Linked DNA regions of Homo sapiens: all the other regions are linked to region 1. Evidence: promoter capture Hi-C in 16 types of primary human blood cells and fetal thymus (Javierre and others, 2016). All regions are on one chromosome and are shown on one strand. Each heading gives the region's core, a stretch centred on a gene start or on the middle of the fragment in contact. The rest is flanking DNA. Distances are from core to core; before and after follow the strand shown.

Evidence for each region. Contacts are between HindIII fragments. The CHiCAGO score rates a contact against its expected background, and 5 or more counts as called.
Region 2: a contact is called between a fragment that was not itself captured here and the fragment with the promoter of YWHAH in region 1, in 2 of 17 cell types (neutrophils and fetal thymus). The highest score is 5.9, in neutrophils.
Region 3: a fragment that was not itself captured here is called in contact with the fragment with the promoter of YWHAH in region 1 in 1 of 17 cell types (neutrophils); the score reaches 6.5 in neutrophils.
Region 4: a fragment that was not itself captured here is called in contact with the fragment with the promoter of YWHAH in region 1 in 1 of 17 cell types (fetal thymus); the score reaches 8.0 in fetal thymus.
Region 5: a fragment that was not itself captured here is called in contact with the fragment with the promoter of YWHAH in region 1 in 1 of 17 cell types (fetal thymus); the score reaches 5.0 in fetal thymus.

What each region holds. Positions count from the first base shown.
Region 1 is chr22:31,943,253-31,945,952 of GRCh38, reverse strand. It overlaps YWHAH (tyrosine 3-monooxygenase/tryptophan 5-monooxygenase activation protein eta), which reads right to left and starts at 1,418. Exons shown (of 2, transcript NM_003405.4): 1 at 1,133-1,418. The coding sequence starts at 1,219. YWHAH-AS1 (YWHAH antisense RNA 1) reads left to right here and starts at 587. Exons shown (of 3, transcript NR_171018.1): 1 at 587-720. It overlaps LOC124900477 (a long non-coding RNA gene), which reads right to left and starts at 1,119. Exons shown (of 3, transcript XR_007068065.1): 1 at 718-1,119; 2 at 275-453. RefSeq lists enhancers at 448-497, 1,241-2,098, 2,099-2,700 and silencers at 818-1,157, 1,228-1,447, 1,458-1,547, 1,828-1,977. The HindIII fragment of the contact is 4,478 bases long and covers 1-2,700 here.
Region 2 is chr22:31,340,478-31,343,177 of GRCh38, reverse strand. PATZ1 (POZ/BTB and AT hook containing zinc finger 1) reads left to right here. Exons shown (of 5, transcript NM_014323.3): 2 at 218-281. Among named protein-coding and RNA genes, the nearest start is that of PATZ1, 4.5 kb to the left of the region's middle. RefSeq lists enhancers at 1-511, 2,187-2,700. The HindIII fragment of the contact is 3,977 bases long and covers 1-2,700 here.
Region 3 is chr22:30,973,755-30,976,454 of GRCh38, reverse strand. It overlaps TUG1 (taurine up-regulated 1), which reads right to left. Exons shown (of 3, transcript NM_001396518.1): 3 at 1-1,285. Among named protein-coding and RNA genes, the nearest start is that of TUG1, 5.8 kb to the right of the region's middle. The HindIII fragment of the contact is 1,850 bases long and covers 398-2,247 here.
Region 4 is chr22:31,401,155-31,403,854 of GRCh38, reverse strand. It overlaps DRG1 (developmentally regulated GTP binding protein 1), which reads right to left. Exons shown (of 9, transcript NM_004147.4): 3 at 651-826. Among named protein-coding and RNA genes, the nearest start is that of DRG1, 2.9 kb to the right of the region's middle. The HindIII fragment of the contact is 3,534 bases long and covers 1-2,700 here.
Region 5 is chr22:31,287,947-31,290,646 of GRCh38, reverse strand. PIK3IP1 (phosphoinositide-3-kinase interacting protein 1) reads left to right here. Exons shown (of 6, transcript NM_052880.5): 4 at 948-1,148; 5 at 1,254-1,332. Among named protein-coding and RNA genes, the nearest start is that of PIK3IP1, 3.2 kb to the left of the region's middle. RefSeq lists enhancers at 1-166, 1,314-1,363. The HindIII fragment of the contact is 5,705 bases long and covers 1-2,700 here.

The DNA.
Region 1 (2,700 bases), core at 169-2,668:
TCGGAACTCCCTCCAAAAGGCCAGCAAAGGATACATTTACTATAATCATGGGCAGTAATTCTCAGACTTAAGCCAGCTAAAAATCGCCTGTGAGAGCTGGTTACAATGCAGATGTCTGAGTCTCACCGCCCGAATTTCTGAATGTATAGGTCTAAGGCGGAGTTCAAGGGGATCCTCCCAGGTCTCAGGAGGTTGTACACTGAACATAGGTTGGTGGTCGCAGTTGTTCTACCACTGTGTGACCTTGACGCAGGGAGAGGAAATATTCATTTACAGAAAACGTAAAATAACGTGGAGAGAGAGTGAGATGGTAACCGGAACTCAGAAATGCAGGTGGTGTGTGACCCACGGTATTTTGCTAGGGTGTGGCTGGGCACGACTCATCCACCGGAGAAGCTGCAGAATCGATTTATGAGGGTCTCAGGAATGCAAAGACACACAGATTCGTCTCACCTAGAAGTCACGTTTCATTTTAATCTCCAAGCAGACAGCGCAGCAGCAAACCTGGGGCTGTGGAGTGGGGCCCCACACCCTCCGCCCACTCTCCCGCCCCCGTCCACGCCTAGACTGCAGGAAAGGGGTCTTCGCACACAAAGCCAGACCCCCAGGCGTGGGAAGATGGAACCAGAACAATTCGAACGAGCAGAGCAAAACAGATCGGAATTGCAGACTTCAGGTCGTGGCAGAGAAAACCAGCTGAGACAGGGCGCCACTTACTAGGTGATTCTTTATTCCAAGTTGGGGAACGGAGGAAGACGAGAGGGGGAGCCCCCGGGTCCGGTGAAACGCTCTAGGAGAAATGCGGCTCCTTCGCGTCCCCTAGGGCACCCTCTGCCCCCGGCCGGGTTCCGAACTAAGATGTGGCGACCCCGACCGGCCCGCCCCCCTTCCGGGGCTGCCTTCGCGATCCCGAACTGCACCCTCCCGGATCCCCCACCCTGGGCCCAGCCTCAGGAAGTGGCGGGGCGCCCAGCGGGAGCGGGAAGCGCGGGCTAAGGGCGGGCGGGCGGCCACGCCCAGCCGGGTCGCCGGGTCGCCCATGGCCGGGAGGGGAACGCGCCCGCGGCCATCCCCGTCCCTCCCCAACGCCAGGCCCCCCCCGGCCAGCCGCCCGGGCTCCCGGCGCGCTCACCGCCTTCATAGCGGAGGCCATGTCGTCGTAGCGCTCCGCCTGCTCGGCCAGCCGCGCCCGCTGCAGCAGCTGCTCCCGGTCCCCCATGTCGCTCGCGGCTCGGCCTCGCCTCGCGCCTCACACCGCTGGCTCGCTAGCCCTCCCGCCGGTCAGTCCGCTCCCCGGTCGCTGCGGAGGCCGCCGCCGCGCACGCGCACTGGCTCGCCGGCCGGCCGGAGGCTGCAGGCTGCAGGCTGCAGGCAGCGCCGCCGCTCGCGCCCTCTCGCTGGCTCGCCCCGCGCGCTGTGGCTCGCGCCGCGGACAACGCCGAGGGAGGAGACGCGGCCGCGCTGGGGGATGGGAGGACGGGACGACGCCTGCGCAGTGAGAGTGGCCAGGCCGGGCGGCGGGGAGCGGCGGGAGTGGGAGGGGGGAAGGGCGGGCCGGCCCTAACGGTCTATTTCAAGGTGACGTCACCTACTATAAATAGCCACCGCCGCCGCCGCCGCCCGGCCTGAAAGCCGCGCAGGCGCTCTGCGAGTGCTGCATTTTACCGCCGCAGAGATGGAGGTGGAGAAGGGAAAGCCGGGCAGGAGACTGCGGAGCCGGTGGAGGGGGCGCGGTGATGGCGGCTGCACAGGCAGTGCATTGTCATAGCCCCACCCTGAAACGCGCCACTCCATCCACGTTAGAGATCTGGCTTGAGAAGGGCCCCAAAAGCAAGCAAACATACTGGCGGAGAAGCCGGGAGACCGCGTGCCCCGAGGGGCGGGTCCGCCCAGCCCCGCCCCAGCCGTCCCGCCCGCCCCGAGCCCTGCCTGTCCATGCGTTCTGCTGGGCCACACCTTGTACTGGTCCGGGCAGGATCGAGTCCGACCCTCGGGGACAGCCCCGCTACACAGACACACACAATCGAACCCAACCTGAGACGTAGCCTTGGGCAGGCTGTGCCTTCCACCAGAGGAGGGGACTGGGTGGCCAGGGCGGGACAAGTAATATTCAGGACACATTAGGAGCCAGCCCAGTGCTAGTCCCGTACAAGCATCCTCCTCTTTAATCCTCACTACCCAGCCCACAGTGGGCACAGCTGGTCTCCCCATATTTAAAACGTGGAACCTGAGGAAAAGCGAGGTTAGTGACTTGCTCAGGGTTACGCAGCCTGTAAGTGGTGGGGCCAGGATCTGAGTCCAAACCCAGGCTGAACTTTCTCTTGTGGCAAAGAGCTGGGGTGGCCCAACTGGCTGGTCACTGAGCCCCTCCCAATCCTGGCTGGTATTGGATGCTGAGGGTCCCTTGTGCCAGGCCCTGGACTGGGCTGCCCGACAAGCTAGGAAAATGATGATTAAAACAAGGCCCCCACTTGATTTCAACACGCCAAGGGCAGTGCAGGAGAGGGGGCCTTGGGCTCGCTGAGAATTTTATTGAGCATCTACTGCATGCTCAGCCCACAGGGATAAGCTGGATCTTGAAGGAGAGTCAGGAAAAAGATTAAGGCCTGGGGTACAGCATTGGCAAAGGCTTGGCAGTGACCTGGGAGATGGTGAGAAGAGAGGCCTAAGAATGGGAAGTGAGGTTGGGTAAAACAAGAT
Region 2 (2,700 bases), core at 143-2,642, 600 kb after region 1:
ATTTCTCTTCCCCCCTCCAGAGAAAACCAGGGCAGAGAGGCCTGGGCCTGTGGAGCCAGAACTGGGTGGTGACTTTGTCTTTGTCATGCTGGGGTTGGGGAGAGGGAGTCCTTTCCAGCAGTGAGTGTGTGTGTGTGTGTACACACGTATGCATATGTGCCTGTGTGGTGGGGTCTGGCCAAGTTTCTAAAGTCCCTCTTGGTTCTCTCTTTTCCAGGCCTGATCACTTGAACGGACATATCAAGCAGGTGCACACTTCTGAGCGGCCTCACAAGTGTCAGGTAGGGGCTGGGTCAGGGCAGAGATGGGCTGAAGGAGATGATGCTGTTCTCACGGTCGCAGCCTTGAGCCAGCCGCTGCGTGTGCCGGGGGCCCGGCTGACCGCCCACCGCTTTGCACACCTCCCCTCTGTTCCTCCACCCTCCCTCTGCTCTCCTCCTTTGTTCTTCCCCCAGGCCCCCTTCCCCCACAGCTGACGTTCCTCCTTCCTGGTTGCTTGGTCCTGGTTCCCACCCTGTCTTTGCCTTCACTCTGTTGCTTGGCTTTCCTCTCCTGGTGTTTGCCGGCTCCTTGGATGGTGGGCCGTATCACACAGATGTTGTGTTGGGAGACCCGGCACTGCGCTGGGCCTGACTGTTGGTTTCCAGCAGTTTGTAGGGACTGCAGGTTTTTTTAAAAGGGCTCCTGGTGGTCCAGCCAACCACTCTTCCCCTTTTCTGACCTCAGTTAGAGCTCCTCCTGGGTCCCCTCAGCTTAGGGCACAAGGCAGTGGGGGAGGTAGGAGGTAGGGAGTGGGTGGTCCCCTCTCCCACACTGGCATCTGTTTAACCCATCCTAAGCCAGGGTTTCTGGAGGACTGGAGAGCAAAGTGGGCTCTTCTTCTTTTAGCTCTTTGCAAAGTAGCAGGTAGGAAACGCTGGACCAGATAGATTCTCACCCTTGGTTTACCTGCTTGAACAATATCTGGGGGCCCTGCTGGTACCCAAAAGATTGAGTTTCCTCTCCTGGCCACTGAGCCTTCCTGTGTGGATAGCGAACACACCTCTGTCTTCTCCTTGGTTATCTCCCCTCTCCCATGCCAAGTTCCCATCAAGTGAGGGCGAGCCATGATTGTGGGGTGTGCACTGCAGTCTCTGATAGGATAACCTGCTTCTCCTTATCCTGTTGGTGGCAAGGGGAGAGGGTTCAGGGAGACCAGCAGGGAGGGATGAATGTGCCGTAAGTAGGGCAGAGCCCCTGGGGGTCAGGCGTGGACGGTGTTCACAGGTGCTGGGCTAGGCAGTCTCCCTGGAGGATGACCCAGGGTGGGCCTGCTGGGATCTGTCTTTGCCTTGCTGCCTTCTCTCTCTCTGTCTCTGATTCTCTCATCACAGAGCACATTCTGACTCAGGTAGTGTGCTGATTAGCCCGGGCAGAGTAGGAGGAGCCCAGAGGGCAGTGGGGGCAAGCCCGGTGGCCTGGGGGGGTAACCTGCACTCTCTGCCCTTTTTCCAGGTGTGGGTTGGGAGCAGCAGCGGCCTGCCGCCCCTGGAACCTCTTCCTAGCGACCTGCCATCATGGGACTTTGCCCAGCCTGCTTTGTGGAGGTCGTCCCATTCGGTTCCTGACACCGCCTTTTCCCTTTCTCTAAAAAAATCATTCCCAGCCCTTGAAAACCTGGGCCCAGCACACTCCAGCAACACTCTCTTCTGCCCAGCCCCGCCGGGATATCTGAGGCAGGGCTGGACCACCCCAGAGGGCAGCAGGGCCTTTACCCAGTGGCCTGTTGGCTAGCCTGGGCCTCCCTGGAGAGGGTTGACAGTGGAAGGGAACAGGAGGGGCATTTGGCCTGAGACCCCTGCTTTTGGGAGAGGCTAGCAGGGTGGTTCCTGCCCAGCATGCCCAGCTCCTCCCTGGGTGACTCGGAGTCTTTCCCATGTCAGAGCCCCCAAATGGGGGTAGCAAGGAGCACCTTTCTGGAACCCCCTATAGCATCCAAGTTTCTTTCTGGGCTCTCTTGCCTTTTCCCCCCTTTCACAGATGGCACCCCTGGGCATCTGTCCTTGCCTAGGTGATTTTGGAGGTTGGTGCCTTCCTGGGAACTAGCCACCAGCTTATCTGCTTCCCTTCCCCTGGCATCACTTCCCATAGGCCTGGGGTTTCTAGACTGGGGCCTGGCCACCCCTTTCCCCACTCCACGAGTGAGTCGGCCTCCAGAGAAGACTGGCACAATTCCAACTAGAGTCAACCCATGCTGCCCTCTGCCCTTCCCACTCAGATCTAGATCCTGCTTTCATTTCTGGCTAGTGAAGTAGACTTTTGTGTTTTTGAGGTTTATTAGCAGGTCTGCTCAGGAACCAAACTAATGAGTAGCTTTATATTGGGCCACCCCAATATATGGCTTTGGGGGCTGAAAAAGCAGATGTAGACCCCCTCCCTCGGATCCTTATTGGTGTGCCCTTTAGCACTCCGCAGACTCTGCGGGGTGAACAGGAGTGATGATAAAATTTTTCATTCTAACATTTGAGGCTTTGTGTGTTTTGTCCTTGGTCTGTGTCATAACACTGACATCACTGTCCCTTGGTGTACAAATGCGCTCCTGCCCTGCCCCTCCCAACATACACTCTCACAGACCTGCTGGCCCCTCCTCCAGCCCTACAGCCACAACTCCCCTAACGGACCCAGCAGGTGAAGACATGCTGGCTCTCTTGCTCTGGGCTG
Region 3 (2,700 bases), core at 73-2,572, 970 kb after region 1:
ATAGATTTTGTTTTTCAAATCAGTTTGTTTCCAGCAAAAAGGTAGGCAATAAGCTATCGGAAATGCCCAGCAAGTAAGCTAATGGCCTGCTCAAAGGGCCAGCCTCCAACTCTCCCTACCACCTATATTTGGTGGTATCAGACATCAAAAGATTCATCTTAAAAGAACATCTCTCGGCACAAGGCAGAGCAATTAAAAAAAAAATCTATTACTGGCTAGAAGAAACTTTTCCAAATGGTTTCATTTTAAATCACATGAGAAGGGGTGTTCAAAGATTGTCGCTTGAAGTTCAACTGTTAAAGTGAGCTGAATAGTCATAATAATTCTGGAGAATAGGCAGATATGCCAGTGATGAAGAAAAAAGAATTCAGCCTTTTTTTTTTTTTTTTTTAAAGCTTATTAGCTCATTTATCTTGGAAACAGTAGTTAAACTGAATAAAAACCAAGGGGCAATATAACTGCTACTGGTTGAGTCATACAGTGATGTGTAGTTTGGAAAAGAAGACGAATGATAGATATTGAGCCCCTTTAGGAAATGTTGCCAGTATTTGAATTTGGCTTTCATAGTTATCTCTTGCACACGAAGTAGAGTACCATGGCTGATAACAAGAGGTCAAATGTACAAGTTGCTCTAATATGGCCTCAATGAGGCACCAGCTTCAAAACCCGCTTGCTGATAATTCAGGTATTCATGGAGGGTCAAGACTTCAAAGTCATGTACTTCAAGTACCAGTAGAGCATCTGGTGTTGCTTAAGGGAGTCTGTCAGTGTAGGGTGCATAGAATTGTTCTCTGGCTATATCCCATTCTAGGAATCACTGGATATCCATCTGGAGTGGAGGGCTGTTAATCTAGGTTCACTTGACACCATCTTCAGCAAATGATCATTCCTGGGGTCAAAGACATGCCTGTCTTCTTGCACTTTTCTAAGTTCACACACAGTATTTCTAAGAATGTTCAGCATCTACTGAACATGAACTGTGCTGAGTGGAGGTACAGAAAAGATTGGAATGCCATTCAGGTCAAACATATTGCTGTCTGGGGCAGTGGTTTTCAAACTGTGTTCGGAAGAGTTCAAGGTGTTGTAAGGAAGTCCCCTTAGGTGTCACCACGGTGGTAAAGGAAGATAGTTGTAGCAGGATTCAGGCCCCTACTCTTGCTTCACTACTTCATCCAGAGCAGCTTCACTTTTACTCTGGGCTTCTGCACAGTTTTCACTCAAAGGGCTTCATGGCCACAAAGCCTTTGGAAAACCAATGATCTAAGAATAAGTCGGTCACAAAATGCTGAAATACAAAAAATAGGTCACAGAAAGCAGAAACTGTAAGCAAAGCCTGTGGTAAACCAAGGTGTTTTCCTATTCTTTCCCTAAGATGGACCACATTACAGGTTGATGGAGTTAGAACTCATCTGCTATAAATTTTGATTGCCTGCAGTTGGGCTTGTAAGTATCTATCAGAGAACAAGGCTAATGATTTTCAGTTGTAACAGCACTGGGGTTTTTGCCTAAGGATGCAAAATGCATCCAATTCTTTGTAAGTATTACTCCAAGAAGTCCATGGCTGGATGACTTCTCAAGCATTATCTCAAGGAGATAAATCTCAAGAAAATATCTCCTCATCCCTTTTCTCCCCTTCCCAACCTCCTTAACCCACCTGAGATGCAATGTCCTTGAACTAAAGTTATGATACAATTCTAGGGATACAGAAGTATATTGCTAAATGTCATGGAATTTATCCAATTTGGGGTGAATTAACTTTCTTCCATTCCTTTCCTATGTCTCCCCATACATCTTCTAGGGATTCCCTTGACAGAAAATAAAGGTAATGGTCAAGATGCAAGACTCTCAGATGACAGAGACATACTAATTCAACCATTAATAAGAAGGTATGAGAAAGGGGGATTTTGAAGATGCTGTTTATTCTGGGGTGTCCAGGGCAATCTGCTGGCAATCAGGAAGCACTGGTTATACTGCTCTAGAGCAGTTTCTGCATTCCATTAGATGGAATGATGCAAAAAAATATCCTTCTGTGTTTGATTAAACTTAGGACACAAAGGGTTAAACAGCAAAATGGAACTCTTTACTAGAAGTCTTTTTTTTTTTTTTTCAGACTTCTGAATTTAAGCACAGAAGCAGTAGTAATTTGCTGCAAGTCTCCTGAGATCCTTTAATACACTATACCTCAATGTAGACTGGGGGAAGGGCCATGTCTTACATACTTTACTATCTTACTAGGTAACAGAAGCTTTCTCCATGTCATATTTACACACACACACACAATACTGACTTTAAAAAAACCAGGTGGCTCATTTTGTGTAAATACTAGTTTGCAAAGATAGGACCATAGACAAGCTCTTAGGGCCCAGGAATATCAGTAAGTCTTAAAAAATCTAAAAGTAGCTTTGTGTTTCATATTGGGTAGCTTTGCTGTTAGAACATGTCCCGTTTTTGACTTGACAATCTACCACCACGGAGATATTATGCCCTTAAACCGTGGGATATTGCCATGGGATTCTGGTCCAGATGTAGCTATCACGTGATCACACATCCTATGTGACTAGGGGCACCAGATCAGGAAGCTGGAAAATTTCCTGAGGTTCCCAATACCCAGCCATTTTAACACTGTGGGTAAAATGGAGGCTAATTCCAAGGAGAGTACTGGACTGGGTGTCAGAAAGCCTGGCCTCTACCACTTTCACA
Region 4 (2,700 bases), core at 152-2,651, 540 kb after region 1:
CCCAGAAAGGGACATGTGTCTCTGCATGGGCACCTGACCAGCTGGAAAAAGGGTCATTAAAAATACAACCAGGGGGCCGGGCGCGGTGGCTCACACCTGTAATCCCGCATTTTGGGAGGCCAACGCGGGCGGATCACAAGGTCAGGAGTTCGAGACCAGCCTGACCAGCATGGTGAAACCCCATTTCTACTAAAAATACAAAAAATTAGCCCGGCATGGTGGTGCTCACCTGTAGTCCCAGCCCCCACCCTCAGGTGAAAAAGTAGTTCAAGCGATTCTCCAGCCTCAGCCTCCCGAGTTGCTGGGATTACAGGCATGTGCCACTACACCCGGCTAATTTTGTATTTTTAGTAGAGATGGGGTTTCTCCATGTTGGCCAGGCTGGTCTCGAACTCCCGACCTCAGGTGATCTGCCCGCCTTGGCTTCCCAAAGTGCTGGGATTACAGGCGTGAGCCACTGCGCCCGGCCCTTTCTCTGCATTTTCACATGCGCTATCCCATTTTATTATCGTACTGCTCTATTTCCCCTACCAGGTAGTAAGTGCCTGGTAGATCAAAGATCAGGCCTGGCATACAGTGAGCTCCCAATAAACTTCTTCCTAAATGAAGAATAGATTTCTTTCCTTCCTTAGTCTGCAGGCTTGACTCACCTGGATCTTGGCACCTTTGTATCTGATGACACCAGGCACAGTGGTCAGAGTAGTGAATTCATAGGCTGCCACCTCAGAATATACCCCTGCCAGGTTACTAAGCAGTGTTGACTTCCCCACAGATGGAAAACCAACAAATCCAATTCGAGCATCACCTGTCTTGGCCACATCAAAACCTAAAACATCAATGAATACCAAAAAGAGGAGAGTTATCCCCCAGAGTGTTAAGACTCATATAACTTCTTTCACATTTTTACTGCCTATCCCTCTAGGCACTATTTCTCAAACTTTTTATGGTTTACCTTTAAAGGAGAACTAAAGCACACAAAACTTGAGGGCACAGCAATTCACAAAATTCAATGCAGTGTTTGATATAAAAAAACTGTATTCAAAAAAGTCAGGCACAGTGGCACACATCTATAGTCCCTGCTATTCCAGAGGCTGAGGCAGGAGGATCTCTTGAGTCCAAGAATTCAGGTCAAGCCTGAGCAACATGGCAAAACCCTGTCTCTACAAAAAATACAAAAATTAGCCAGGCATGGTGGCATATGCCTGTAGGTCTCAGCTACTTCAGAGGCTGAGGTGGGAGGATCGCTTGAGCCCAGGAGGTTGAGGCTGCAGTGAGCTGTGATCACACCACTGTACTCCAGCCTGGGCAACAGAGCAAGACCCTGTCTCGAAAAAAAAAAAAAAAAAAAAGGTACAGCCCAAATATATGTATGAAAAATGATCCAAAAATAGAGTTGTTAGCTACTCTACCTATGGTGTAGCCCTGCTCTGCCTATGGAGGAGCTGCCCTTTTATAACTAAAATAAACAAATTAATTAATTAAAAAGAGTTTTGTTTTTGTTTTTTTGTCTTTCAAATTCTGTAAATTGTATGACTGACTGGGTTTTCTTTTTTTCTTTTTTCTTTTTACAATGGCTGCCAACAAGTTCAGAGTCAAATCTGTGGCCCTTCTCTACCAGGTGCACAGATCTTACGCCATTCCTTTTAGTCCTAAATCTTATCTCGCTTGGCTTCGACTTATTTTTCCTACGTTTTCCCTTTGCATCAATTTTTTTACTTATTTTTAATCTTGTTGATGATATAGGTTTACATTTCTGTAAGCCAATATAAATCTACTTTGGTTTTGTTTTTTCTTTTTTTTTCTTGAGACAGAGTCTAGCTCTGTCACCCAGGCTGGGGTACAGTGGCATGATCTCGGCTCACTGCAACTTCCACCTCCCAGGTTCAAGCGATTCTCCTGCCTCGGCCTCCTGAGTAGCTGGGATTACAGGTTCGTGCTACCATGCCCAGCTAATTTTTGTATTTTTAGCAGAGACGGGGTTTCACCATGTTGGTCAGGCTAGTCTCGAACTCCTGACCTGTGATCTGCCCACTTCGGCCTCCCGAAGTGCTGGGATTACAGGAGTGAGCCACCGCGCCTGGCCCTACTTTGGTTTTCTTAAGATGAGATCTCGCTCTATCACCCAGGATGGAGTGCAGTGGTGCCATCACAACTCACTGCAGCCTCAACCTCCTGGGTTCAAGCAGTCCTCCCAACTCAGCCTCCCAAGTAGCTGAGACCACAAACATGCACCACCATGCTAGGATACTTTTTTTTTTTTTTTTTTTTTTTGAGACAGAGTCTAGCTCTGTAGCCCAGGCTGGAGTGCAGTGGTACAATCTCACTCACTGCTACCTCTGCCTCCTGGGTCCCGATTCAAGCAATTCTCCTGCCTCAGCCTCTCAAATAGCTGGGATTACAGGCATGCGCCACCATGCCCAGCTAATTTTTGTATTTTTAGTAGAGATGGGGTTTCACCATGCTGGCCAAGCTGGTCTTGAACTCCTGATCTCGTGATCCACGCCTTGGCCTCCCAAAGTGCTAGGATTACAGGCGTGAGCCACCGCACCCAGCCTTTTTTTTTTTTTGGTACATCTTCTTTCATACCTATGGGGACCCCTCATTTCTAAGCCCATAGAGACAGGGCTTTGCTGGTTCCGAACTCCTGGCCTCAAGCAATCCTCCCGCCTCAGCCTCCCAAAGTGCTGGAATTACAAGGGT
Region 5 (2,700 bases), core at 106-2,605, 660 kb after region 1:
CAGTGTGCTAGACCCACACTGCTCACAACCCCAGCTCCCCAACCTCCCCTGACACACACCGCGGGAAGAAGTCGTTTGAGGCATCTGAGCTTCAGAGAAGTTAAGCGATTTACCAAAGGCAATGGCAGGGGACAGATTTGAATTCACGTTTCTTAGATTCCAGAGCGCAGGCTTTTTGCTCCCAAAGCAGCAAGAGAGTTTTCTAGGTTTAAATGGGATAATCAAAATAAAGCATTTATTTTTTATTTTTTATTTTTTGAGACGGAGTCTCGTTCTGTCACCCAGGCTGGAGTGCAGTGGCGCAATTTCGGCTCACTGCAACTTCCGCCTTCCGCGTTACAGTGATTCTCCTGCCTCAGCCGCTTGAGTAGCTGGGATAACAGGCGTGCACCACCACGCCCAGCTAATTTTTGTATTTTTAGTAGAGACGGGGTTTCACCATGTTGGCCGGGCTGCTCTCTAACTCCTGACCTCAGGTGATCCGACCGTCTGGCCTCCCAAAGTGCTGGGATTACAGGCGTGAGCCACCGCTCCCGGCACAAAGTAAAACATTTTACCTAAGGACTGGCACAGAGCGTACGCTTAGATGTGAGCTGCTCAAAGGAAGCATGGGTTGTTTCCTGAAGTAGAAGTGGGGGGAATCCCCTGCAGAAGAACGCAACCGAGAGGGGCCTTGGGAAATAGCAAGGATTTGGACAGATAAAGACGTGGGAGGTAGGAGAGAAGCCCTTCCCTACGGCCTTCCTCTCTCATTTGCCTTGTCCCTGAGATGGTTCAGCCCTCTCAGGCCTGATCTTACCTCTGGGGCAGAATTTGACTTTGGGTTGTGTGTGGGGGGAAATTCTTAGGTGACCCACCTTCATCTACCCTAACACTCAGGCCAGGTTCAGCTGTGGAATTCACTCAGGGCAGTCCCTGATGAGAGCTGTTTCCCACCTCATCTCCAGAGACCACCTCCCAGGCCCTGCCAGCCTTCACGACAGAAATCCAGGAAGCGTCTGAAGGGCCAGGTGCAGATGAGGTGCAGGTGTTCGCTCCTGCCAACGCCCTGCCCGCTCGGAGTGAGGCGGCAGCTGTGCAGCCAGTGATTGGGATCAGCCAGCGGGTGCGGATGAACTCCAAGGAGAAAAAGGACCTGGGAACTCTGGGTATGACGGTCCCCCACCCCTGCCCTCGTTGGGATTCATCAAGAGATGTCATTTGCTGATTGTCTAGGGTGTGGCTAATGGGACCTTGTGTCCTATCCTTGGCAGGCTACGTGCTGGGCATTACCATGATGGTGATCATCATTGCCATCGGAGCTGGCATCATCTTGGGCTACTCCTACAAGAGGTCAGTAGCTTCTCTTCTGGGCCCTCTTAGGAGGAGGGGAGGAAGGTACACAAAGTCAAACTTTGTGGCTTTCTTACCCAAAAGGAAGCAAGATGTTGAAAATCAGCTCAAGATGTAGAGACTTGGTCCTAGTCTTTATCTGCTGACCTTGGACAAACCCTTTCCTTTGGTGCCTTTACACCTCACTTAAAAGCCTTGTGAGGGATGTTCTTGTTCCGCATTTTACAAATGAAGAAGCCTCTGTCAGAGACTTGCTCAAAGTCACATAGCCTAGGAGTGGCAGAACCTGGATTCAGACCCAGCTCTTTTGATAGCAAATTCCCTGCTGTCTGATCCCACATGCCTGGCATTGAAGTGAGTGGCACTGCAGAAATCAGGCTTGACACTGATTGCAGGGACCTTAAGACCAAATTCTTTCTGTGAGTTATAAAATTCTGCTACTAGAAAAGGTTTCCAGCCACTGTTGCAGTTGAGGCTTAAATTTCCTGAGCTATAAGCAGTGGGATCTCCTCTGCTAGGGAAGAAAAAAGTGAGTTGGAGAACAGAAAGTCTGTTTGCCACTCTTCACCACGTGTGAGAAAGCCAAAGAGGCTACTTGTGAAACTCAAGGACATGACCTGTGGCTGGGACAGCAGGAGAAGAATGCTTATTTTGAAAGGTCCCACGAGATGTCCGTCAGTGACTGGTGCATGATGGTAAGCCAGACTGGCATTCATCTTTACAGCACTGGCTGATTGTGGAAAATTATTTGCCATTCTTGGGCAAAATCGGGGGATTTGACTTCTAGCCCTGGGTGTCTGTAATATTCTCCTCTGTGGTCTGAGAAAACTTCCTGTGAGGAAAGTGACACAGTAGCCTGCATTTTTCCTTCCTTTCCTCCCTCCCTCCCTCCCTTCCTTCCTTCCCCTTTCTTTCCTTCCTTTCTTTGATTTTTTTTTTTCAGGGTCTCGCTCTATTGCCTAGGCTTGAGTGCAGTGGTGCGATCACGGCTCACTGCAGCCTCAACCTCCCAGGGCGCAAGTAATTACCCCCACCCACCCCCACTGAGTAGCTGGGACTACAGGCATGTCCCACCATGCCTGGCTGATTTTTAATTTTTTTATAGAGACAGGGTCTCACTGTGTTGCCCAGGCTAGTCTCAAACTCCTGGGCTCAAGCAGTCCTCCTACCTCAGCCTCCCAAAGTGTATAGGCATGAACCACCATGCCTGGCATGCAGCCTGCATTTTCCAGTGATGAGGGCCATGTCTGAGCCCACAGCCTCAGTGGATCACCCAGCAGGGCATCTTTAAAGGCCTTGTAGTCAACCTCCTCATTACAGATGAAAAAGGGGAAGTTTGGGTATAATAATAACAGCAGTAGCAAACAT